Linked DNA regions of Homo sapiens: regions 2 and 3 are each linked to region 1. The links are contacts of gene promoters, found by promoter capture Hi-C in blood cells and fetal thymus (Javierre and others, 2016). All regions are on one chromosome and are shown on one strand. The core of a region is centred on a gene start or on the middle of the fragment in contact, and the rest is flanking DNA. Distances in the headings are between cores, read along the strand shown.

Region 1 (2,749 bases), core at 164-2,663:
GTGTGCATAAAGACAAAAACCAAATGAAGCCTGCAGATTTTAGTTTGTCTTAATTCGTGGTAAAAATAGTCCTAGTTAAACCAATCGTCCTATGGATCAGGTCAAAATGATTCAACTAATGAATGCTTCCCTACTGGAGTGCTATGCCTAATATTTATACTAGGTTTACCATAGTCCTGTGCAAAGCAAATAATTTACCATGAACTGATTAGCTGTTTTTAAAAAAGACTACTTATTCTACTAGCATAGACACGCTAACAAGTTCAATGTATCCCACTTCAAAAATAAAGAATCCCTCATCACAAGAGGGTTAAATCAATCCTCAGGTTATGATATGGGATCAAACTCTGCCCGAAAACAGTTTAAAAACCATATAAACATATTATATCCTGAAGCCCATGTTTATTATTTTGTCGCTTTAGTTCTACTGATTTGCACCCATTTGCATTAAAGAATTATAAAAACAGGTGAGCTTAAGACATCCGAGTCCAAATCTCCCATTTTACAGACTCAGGCAAAGACCCGAAAGCAGGCCGGCCGTGGTGGCTAGTGCCAGCATTTTGGGAAGCTAAGGCGGTAGGATTGATTGAGCCCAGGAGTTCGAGACCAGCCAGGGCACCATAGTGAGATCCTTGTCTTTACAATAAGTTTAAAAAAAAAAAATAGCGCCTGGAGTCCCTGGAGTCCTAGCTACTAGGGAGGCTGAAGTAGGAGGATCGCCAAGACCTGAAAACAACTTCAAGGTTAGGCTGAGATGTGTGACAGATTTGAACTTAATCCTGTTCCCTTTAACACCCATGTCTTGTTTTAAGTCGCTAAGAAAGGAGATGGAGGGAGTCAAGTTGTGCATTCTCAATCGCCAATTACGGATTAATCGACAGAATCTTATCTGATTATTAGTACAAATAACATTTTATTTTGTGATCTACCTAAGAGGGTTTGCTTATTCACGCATTCTTTTTTCTAATTAACTTTTTCAGTTTTTCTTCGATTGGGATGACTTTTCCAGAAGGGCAGAAGCAGATAGCACAGAAAGTAGAATACATCCGTGGAAAAGTTGGAGAGACAAAGGCGGCGGGGATGGCTGCACTGATGCAGGGAAAAGTATTGGGAAAACGGAGAGGGCTCCTCGGGCCAACTCTGGGCAACGATGAGCATCCCCGGCCTCGGCAGGGGCGCCGGGCCGCCCGCCCTCCCTCCCTCCCTCCCTCGCGAGTCCCTTCTTCAGAGGACGCGGGGAGCCGGGTCTGCGCGCTCCGCCGCCTGTCACCTAGCGCCCGCGCCGGGCTGCGATTGGACGCGTCGCCGCCAGGCACCCGCCAGAAACACCAGTGCGCTGGGGAGAGGAGGGGGGCGTGCTTGCGAGTCGAGGGCTTGCTTTGGCTTTTTTACGGCTCCCCCCTCCCCTCAGCACTCCATGCCGGGTCTCTAGTTCCAGCGCGCCTCGGCTCGCTCGCGCGGCGGGAGAGTTGGCGCAAACCTCGCGGCAGCCGCAGCCTCCTCGCGCGCCTCTCCTTCCCCTACGCCCTCCGCTCCCGCCATGGGGCCAACGTGGGGCTCCTAAGAGTTGCCGGCTCTCAGCGGCGCAATCTCCAGCCAAAGTCACCGCGGGCGGACTATGGCTTAGGGCGCCAGAGGGGTTAGAGGTACGGGAAGAGGAAAAGACGGCTAACTGGGAAAAAAAGAGAAAACGAAAGAAAAGCCAAACGATGAGTTTCCACAAGGAGGACGGAGTGAACAGTCTGTGCCAGAAGGCTCTGCACATCGTCACCGAGCTGTGCTTCGCCGGCCAGGTGGAGTGGGAGAAGTGCTCGGGCATCTTCCCTCGGGACAGGGGCAGCCAGGGCGGAAGCAGCACAGGTAACCGGGAGGGCTCCGCTCGCGTCCTCGCGCTCCGCTGGGACCCCGCGCGCTAGGCTGCAAGCTCCGGGGTTCTGCGCCTCCCGCGCCGCTCCCGCGGCATATTTGGGGCGCCACGCTTTCCTACCTCGCTCCTTCCTTCGCTCAGCTCCTGACGACTTCGAGGGTGGGGCGTTTGGGTTTTGTTTCCTCCTGTCCACCTGCCGGGCTTCTCCCATTCTCTGGTCCGCTTCCCGCCTCCCGGCGCCGTCTCCCGCTCCCAGCCTCGCCGCGCCTCTCCGCGTTCTCCCACGCCTCCCATCTCCCTCCCGGAGTGGAGAAGTGAGTGCGGGCGGTGACGGCGCCGGGACGGCTCGCGGCTTGGCTGCTTGTGGGGGCGGCTCACCTGTGGGACTAGGGCTGCTCTCGCTCGTTCCACCGGCCGCTGGTCCCGGCCTTGTTGATGGGGGCCAGGCGGGACGGACAAGCCATGCTTGGACGCAGAACTCCCTTGCAGAGGTGGCTGCCTTGGCCTCCGAGGTAACCCGCGGCTGCAACCTGTCGGGCACCTGACAATTTCTAAAGCCCTTTTAATATATATGATTTTCTAGGGTTTCATGACAAAGTTGGTAAAACAAGGATTATTGATCCCATTTGTGAGGCGACACCTAAAGCTCAGAGCACATATCGAAGAAGTGGAAGAGAGGGGAGACGTTTAAAATCCCTAGCACACGCACGCTCTCAGACATCCAACTCACAGACGTCCTCCCTACCCTTCAGGAAACTAGGAAATGGGCTGGATGCAGGAGGATATCGACCGTCGGAAATCTGGAGATGGAAAAAAGTCTCAAGTGGATTTTCCTCAAGGCTTGGGGGTGGAAAGGATCGAATCCAAGCCACTGTTTGGGTC
Region 2 (2,749 bases), core at 128-2,627, 680 kb after region 1:
CTCACTCTGTCACCCAGGCTGGAGTGCAATGGCGTGGTCTCAGCTCACTGCAACCTCTGCCTTCCGGGTTCAAGCGACTCTCCCGCCTCAGCCTCCTGAGTAGATGGGACTACAGGCGTGTGCCACCACACCTGGCTAATTTTTGTATTTTTGGAAGAGACGGGTTTTCACTATGTTGGCCAGGCTGGTCTCGAACTCCTGACCTCGTGATCTGCCCACCTCGGCCTCCCAAAGTGCTGGGATTACAGGCGTGAGCCACCGCACCCGGCCTGGAAAATGAAAGATTTTTAAACCCATAAATATCTCAAAACATTATCCAGCCATATGGTATGGGACCAGGTGCATAAAGTTAAGGCAATGCTGAGACCTCCAGGTTATTCCACTGGCTACAACAGCAGCCTAAAAGAAAGAAAGAAAGAAACTTGGGGTATCCTTCTCTAAACTCTAATATAGAAAGGAAATGCATATCTAGTAACATGTTTCTTTGTCTAATTATCCTCCTACAATCAGCATCTTAAAATAAGCTAATCTCTTATAAAAAATTTTTGGATGTTAATATGACCATCAGCTCAAAAAGCATTAAAGCCACTTCAATCAAGGGACACAGACTAGGTTTCAAGACACTTAGCTCACATAAATTTCTATAAATTTTAATAGAACTTAATGGTCTTTCCATTTTTTTGTGTGGGAAGGGTAAGCATTATTGATTTTACATTTTAATACATTTTAGGGGCATGATGAACCTGGACAGTAAAAGCATCCTTCCTTCGCCCTACCTAATGCAGAGGAGCTTCCTGAAAGAAATTAGTTTGGAATGAAAGGGGAGCAACTGCCTTGCAGGTAAGGATGGGCAGAGTGGGAGGATCTTTAGGACTTTAGATGTAGGTTTCAAGAAAAACAGCAACATGAAAGTCATGTGTGAGAAGATGTAATTATGAGGCAGATTGAGTTATAAATTATTATACAAAGACAACAAAGACATGAAATCAATCTTTAGAAATGATTCTTCCCAAGTAATAGGAGATAGGAATGTCATGGAAATACTTCAACTGGAAGAAAAGCCATGGAAATACTTCAACTGGAAGAAAAGCCATGGCCTTTCTGCAATAACCTACAATTTCTTTTTCTTTTCTTTCTTTTTTTTTTTTTTGAGATGTTGTCTCACTCTGTTGCCCAGGCTGGAGTGCAGTGGTGCTATGTCGGCTCACTGCAACCTCCGCCTCCCAGGTTTAAGTGATTCTCCTGCCTCAGCCTCCTGAGTAGCTGGGATTACAGACGCCCGCCACCACGTCTGGCTAATTTTTGTATTTTTGGTTGAGACGGGAGTTTCACCATGTTTGTCAGGCTGGTCTCAAACTCCTGACCTCAGGTGATCTGCCCGCCTCAGCCTCCCAAAGTGCTGGGATTACAAGCGTGAGCCACCATGCCCGGCCGTAACCGGGCATGGTTACGTAGGTTTACAATTATAGGTTTACAATTTCTATTTCTTGTTCCTATCCACTCCCTTTTGCATCTGATGTCACCAATAATCTTCTCCAAGGAAAAAAAAACAGAAAACACAAATAAGAATTATATTTTATAGTGATTATAATGATCAGAATTCCTCAGACTTCTTTCTGCTGTCATTTTGCTGTGATGTTCGAGCAGCTCATATTTCAGCCCTAATCAGATCTCTGCTGTAATCTGAATATATATTTAATACAATGCTAGAGATAGAGAAATTTTCAAAGTTAAGTAGAGATCAGTTAAAATACCATTACTGTTTACTCTGTGTCTTTTGAATTCTATTATATTTATATTTGTTTACATTTTGAAAACCAAGCCATTTAAAACAGGGATCCCTTCAAAGAGAACATTTATGTGGCATTTTGTTGCAGGAAAAGGTAACTGTAAAACACATGTGCCTCTAATTCAAGGCCAGTTAACCTCAAGTTATTACAGTTGAGATAAATCATATTTTTAAAAATACTTTTTAACCCTTGTTCACTCACTTTTTAAGCCAATAAAAACAGCAAGAATTAACTTGGTCACTTTTTTGTAACCCAAATGCAAACCATGGGTGCAATCCCATAAAATTTTAGCCACGGATATAATTCCAAAGGTTTGAAAGTCCCATCTTCTTTATTGCTCCTGTCTTTGGGACAAAGCCCAATTTCCCCTATAATACCAACACAAATTATAAAAAGAGAGTAATTGATCTCACTGTATTTTCCAAACTTGTTGCTTGTTACTGTCATTAAGCTACTGTCAAGTCTCATCTAGCACCTCCTGTGACACCACCTTCTTTTTTTTTTTTTTTTTTTGAGACGGAGTTTGGCTTTCGTTGCCCAGGCTGGAGTGCAATGGCATGATCTCGGCTCACTGCAACCTCCACCTCGTGGGTGCAAGCAATGCTCCTGCCTCAGCCTCCCAAGTAGCTGGGATTACAGGCATGCGCCACCATGCCCGGCTAATTTTGTATTTTTATTAGAGATGGGGTTTCTCCATGTTGGTCAGGCTGGTCTCAAACTCCCAACCTCAAGTGATCCGCTCACCTCAGCCTCCCAAAGTGCTGGGATTACAGGCGTGAGCCACCGCACCCGGCCCGACACCACCTTCTATATCAGACTTTGCTGCCTCTTCATGAGATGCAACTAAACTTAAGAGACAAAGCAGAGCTCAAATCTATTTTTAAAAGACTTTATAATAAATTGTAATCCCAGGTAGAAATTTTCTATTTCTCATTATCCACAAAATTCTTCTCCATTAA
Region 3 (2,749 bases), core at 154-2,653, 550 kb before region 1:
TAGATGAAATGGACTCAATCAATCTTTAGTCTTTCTTCTAAATCACTGGACTACTTCCCTACCTAGGGGCCATTTCATTACCTCCTCCAATGTTCTGCTTGCCAAGAGTATGGCACATTGGGTTCTATTCCTTAGAAATGGAATAAATAGCTCTTATTTTTCTTAGGTGTTTGACTTTGGAATAGTGACTTTAATTTTGAGGTCCAAGGTCTTCATCCTTAAACTGTGTTATGAGGATCAAACATAAATATGTTGGAGAGAGTATGTAGCATAGGGTCTGAAAATTATAGCTGCTCAATAAAAGCCAGTTTCCTGCCCCTCCTTTTTTTCTGTTAATAGAGGTGTTTTAAATACCTTGGCAGTAAATAATTCCTGATCTTCTGCCTAATTATTTTCAGAAAGGAATTGAGTGACTTCTCTTCCCTAAGCTCATAGTGTAAGCTTACATTTCAAGGAACATCTGCTTCAAGGAGGAAAGATTTGGGTGGAATCACCGTGTACTGTGGAATAGTATTTCATTTTACACAATAGTAATAGAGGCCTTGCTGATTTTAATTGTGCCACTGGCTGTGTTATCTCAAGCAACCTCTCTGGCCCTCCTTTTCTGTAAAAATGGCTACTAGTTGATTATAAGTTTTTTGTACATATGAAATAATATCAATAGAGTTATGTTTAATTCCTAAGCTTCAAACCATTTTCCTGACTAGGCTCAGGAAGCTAGTGTGTCCCAGCATATCAATGGAATGTTTGCAATCACTAGAGCTAATTAGTAGTCAAGATATCTGGCAGAGCTTATTAACCCAGGCTCCTTGTGCTGCTTTCGCCAGTGAAGCTTGATTGGCTTGAGCCTTGGATGATGAACAAAGCTATTTTGTTCTGTGTTTTTGGCATTTTCTATTGCCTGTTTCAAATCCTATACAACAAATTGGTGGATCTCAAAATCCAGCACCTGGACCAGCAGTATTAGCGTTACCAGGGAATTTTTTTTTTTTTTAGAAATGAAAAAACTCAGGCTCCAACTTAGAGCTACTAAATCAAAAACCCTGTGGGTGGAGACCAGAAATCTAGTTCAAGAAGCCTCCAGGTGATTCTAATGAAGACTAAAGTTGAAGAACCATTGCTTGTTAGTCAAAATCACCAACATCAGTGTCACCTGAAGCTAGTTAGAAAATGTAGACTCTCAGGCTTACCCCAGACCTAATGAATTAGAATCTGTAGTTTAACAAGATACACAAGTGATTCATGTACACATTAAAGTATAAGAAAGACTGAGTGCAGTGGTTCACACCTGTAATCTCAGTGCAATGAGAGGCCAATGTGGGAGGACTGCATAAGCCCAAGAATTCAAGACCAGCCTGGGAAACATGGTAAGACCTCTATGGGAGGATTGCATAAGCCCAAGAATTCAAGACCAGCCTGGGAAACATGGTAAGACCTCTATCTCTACAAATAAAAAAAAATTTGGCCAAGCATGGTGGTGCACACCCATGGTCCCAGGTACTCAGGAGGCTAAGACAGGAGGATCAATTGAACTTGGGAGGCTAAGGCTGCAGTGAGCCATGATCATGCCACTGTACTCCATCCTGGGTGACAGAGTGGGATCCTGTCTCAAAGTTTAAGAAGCATGACTCTAGACAGAATTATCATTACATGTAGACAGATCCATTGTCTAATTAGAGGGTCTCTACATGCTTAAGGTTGTATTATATTTATTCCAAAATTATCCCTATATCTATCCATAGTTCCCACTTAAGCCCTTTTTAAAGGTGAGCCTTAGAAAATTCAATAAGGTACCTTTAGAAAAAGATCGCTAGCATTTTGGCTTTAAGCAATAAATGTTTGACAAATTATCCATCTTTATTAATAGAAATTTAGATCATTGTTTCATTCTCACTGCTATATATTCTCAACTGTATAGATATCTCACCAAAAACCCTCCCATACCGCAAGTAAAACCTGTTGATTTAAAGCTTTTTTCCTAATTAATTTGTCTAAAGATATTGTGTTAATATTTGTCCAAAAATATTTTATTTTTGTTACAATAAAATATTGTAAATAATATTTACAATATTTTAAATCATTGTAATGCATACATATTAATACATGCTACTTTATATATTTTAGGAATAATTAATTCCTTTTTATTTTTTCCTTGCATCTTAAATTTGTTAAAAGAGCTCTCATAACAGTTATGTATTAATTAAAAGTTTAAAAACTGCCAAACAAATACATTCATTTCTTTATGTGCATTGTTGCTTTATCATCTGCATTTGATGATTCTAGTTTTTCACATCTCTTTGGTTCTAATTCTTTCATTTTTGTTCTCCAGTTTCTTGTGTTCCCTATTATCGTTGAATATATGTTCAATATTGCATGTGAAAAATTGCAAGATTGATTTGTGATGTATTATGTAGACAGCTTCCTCCAAAGGAGATATCATTTGGTTCTGTCAAGCACCAGAGCACATTACTAGTCAGTAACTACTTAAACCAAGTTTAGGTTTTGAAATTCCCTGATCCAAGAAAGTTAAACCTGGGATCAAATTCCCCATGTAATAACTGCCTCACTTTCTGTTCTCCTTAACCTTGACGGCACAACCTTTAGGGAATCCCAGCTTGGAATAGAGATGCTCAAATCTAAATCTGCTAAAATATATCTTATGCTGGTTCTGAATTCTAAGTTACGTTGCTCTCACCTCACAAAATGGAGAAAACTAGGAGTCCAATTTTATGTTATCAGCAAATGCTCT

What was found. The method cuts DNA at HindIII sites, captures the fragments that hold promoters and counts their contacts. A CHiCAGO score of 5 or more calls a contact.
Region 2: a fragment that was not itself captured here is called in contact with the fragment with the promoter of SYT10 in region 1 in 4 of 17 cell types (M0 macrophages, M2 macrophages, erythroblasts and 1 more); the score reaches 10.0 in M0 macrophages.
Region 3: a fragment that was not itself captured here is called in contact with the fragment with the promoter of SYT10 in region 1 in 1 of 17 cell types (M1 macrophages); the score reaches 6.1 in M1 macrophages.

What each region holds. Positions count from the first base shown.
Region 1 is chr12:33,438,483-33,441,231 of GRCh38, reverse strand. It overlaps SYT10 (synaptotagmin 10), which reads left to right and starts at 1,413. Exons shown (of 7, transcript NM_198992.4): 1 at 1,413-1,860. The coding sequence starts at 1,710. RefSeq lists an enhancer at 1,686-2,502. The HindIII fragment of the contact is 7,804 bases long and covers 1-2,749 here.
Region 2 is chr12:32,758,348-32,761,096 of GRCh38, reverse strand. No RefSeq gene overlaps it. Among named protein-coding and RNA genes, the nearest start is that of YARS2, 3.8 kb to the right of the region's middle. The HindIII fragment of the contact is 3,155 bases long and covers 1-2,749 here.
Region 3 is chr12:33,991,186-33,993,934 of GRCh38, reverse strand. No RefSeq gene overlaps it. Among named protein-coding and RNA genes, the nearest start is that of ALG10, 30 kb to the left of the region's middle. The HindIII fragment of the contact is 1,138 bases long and covers 835-1,972 here.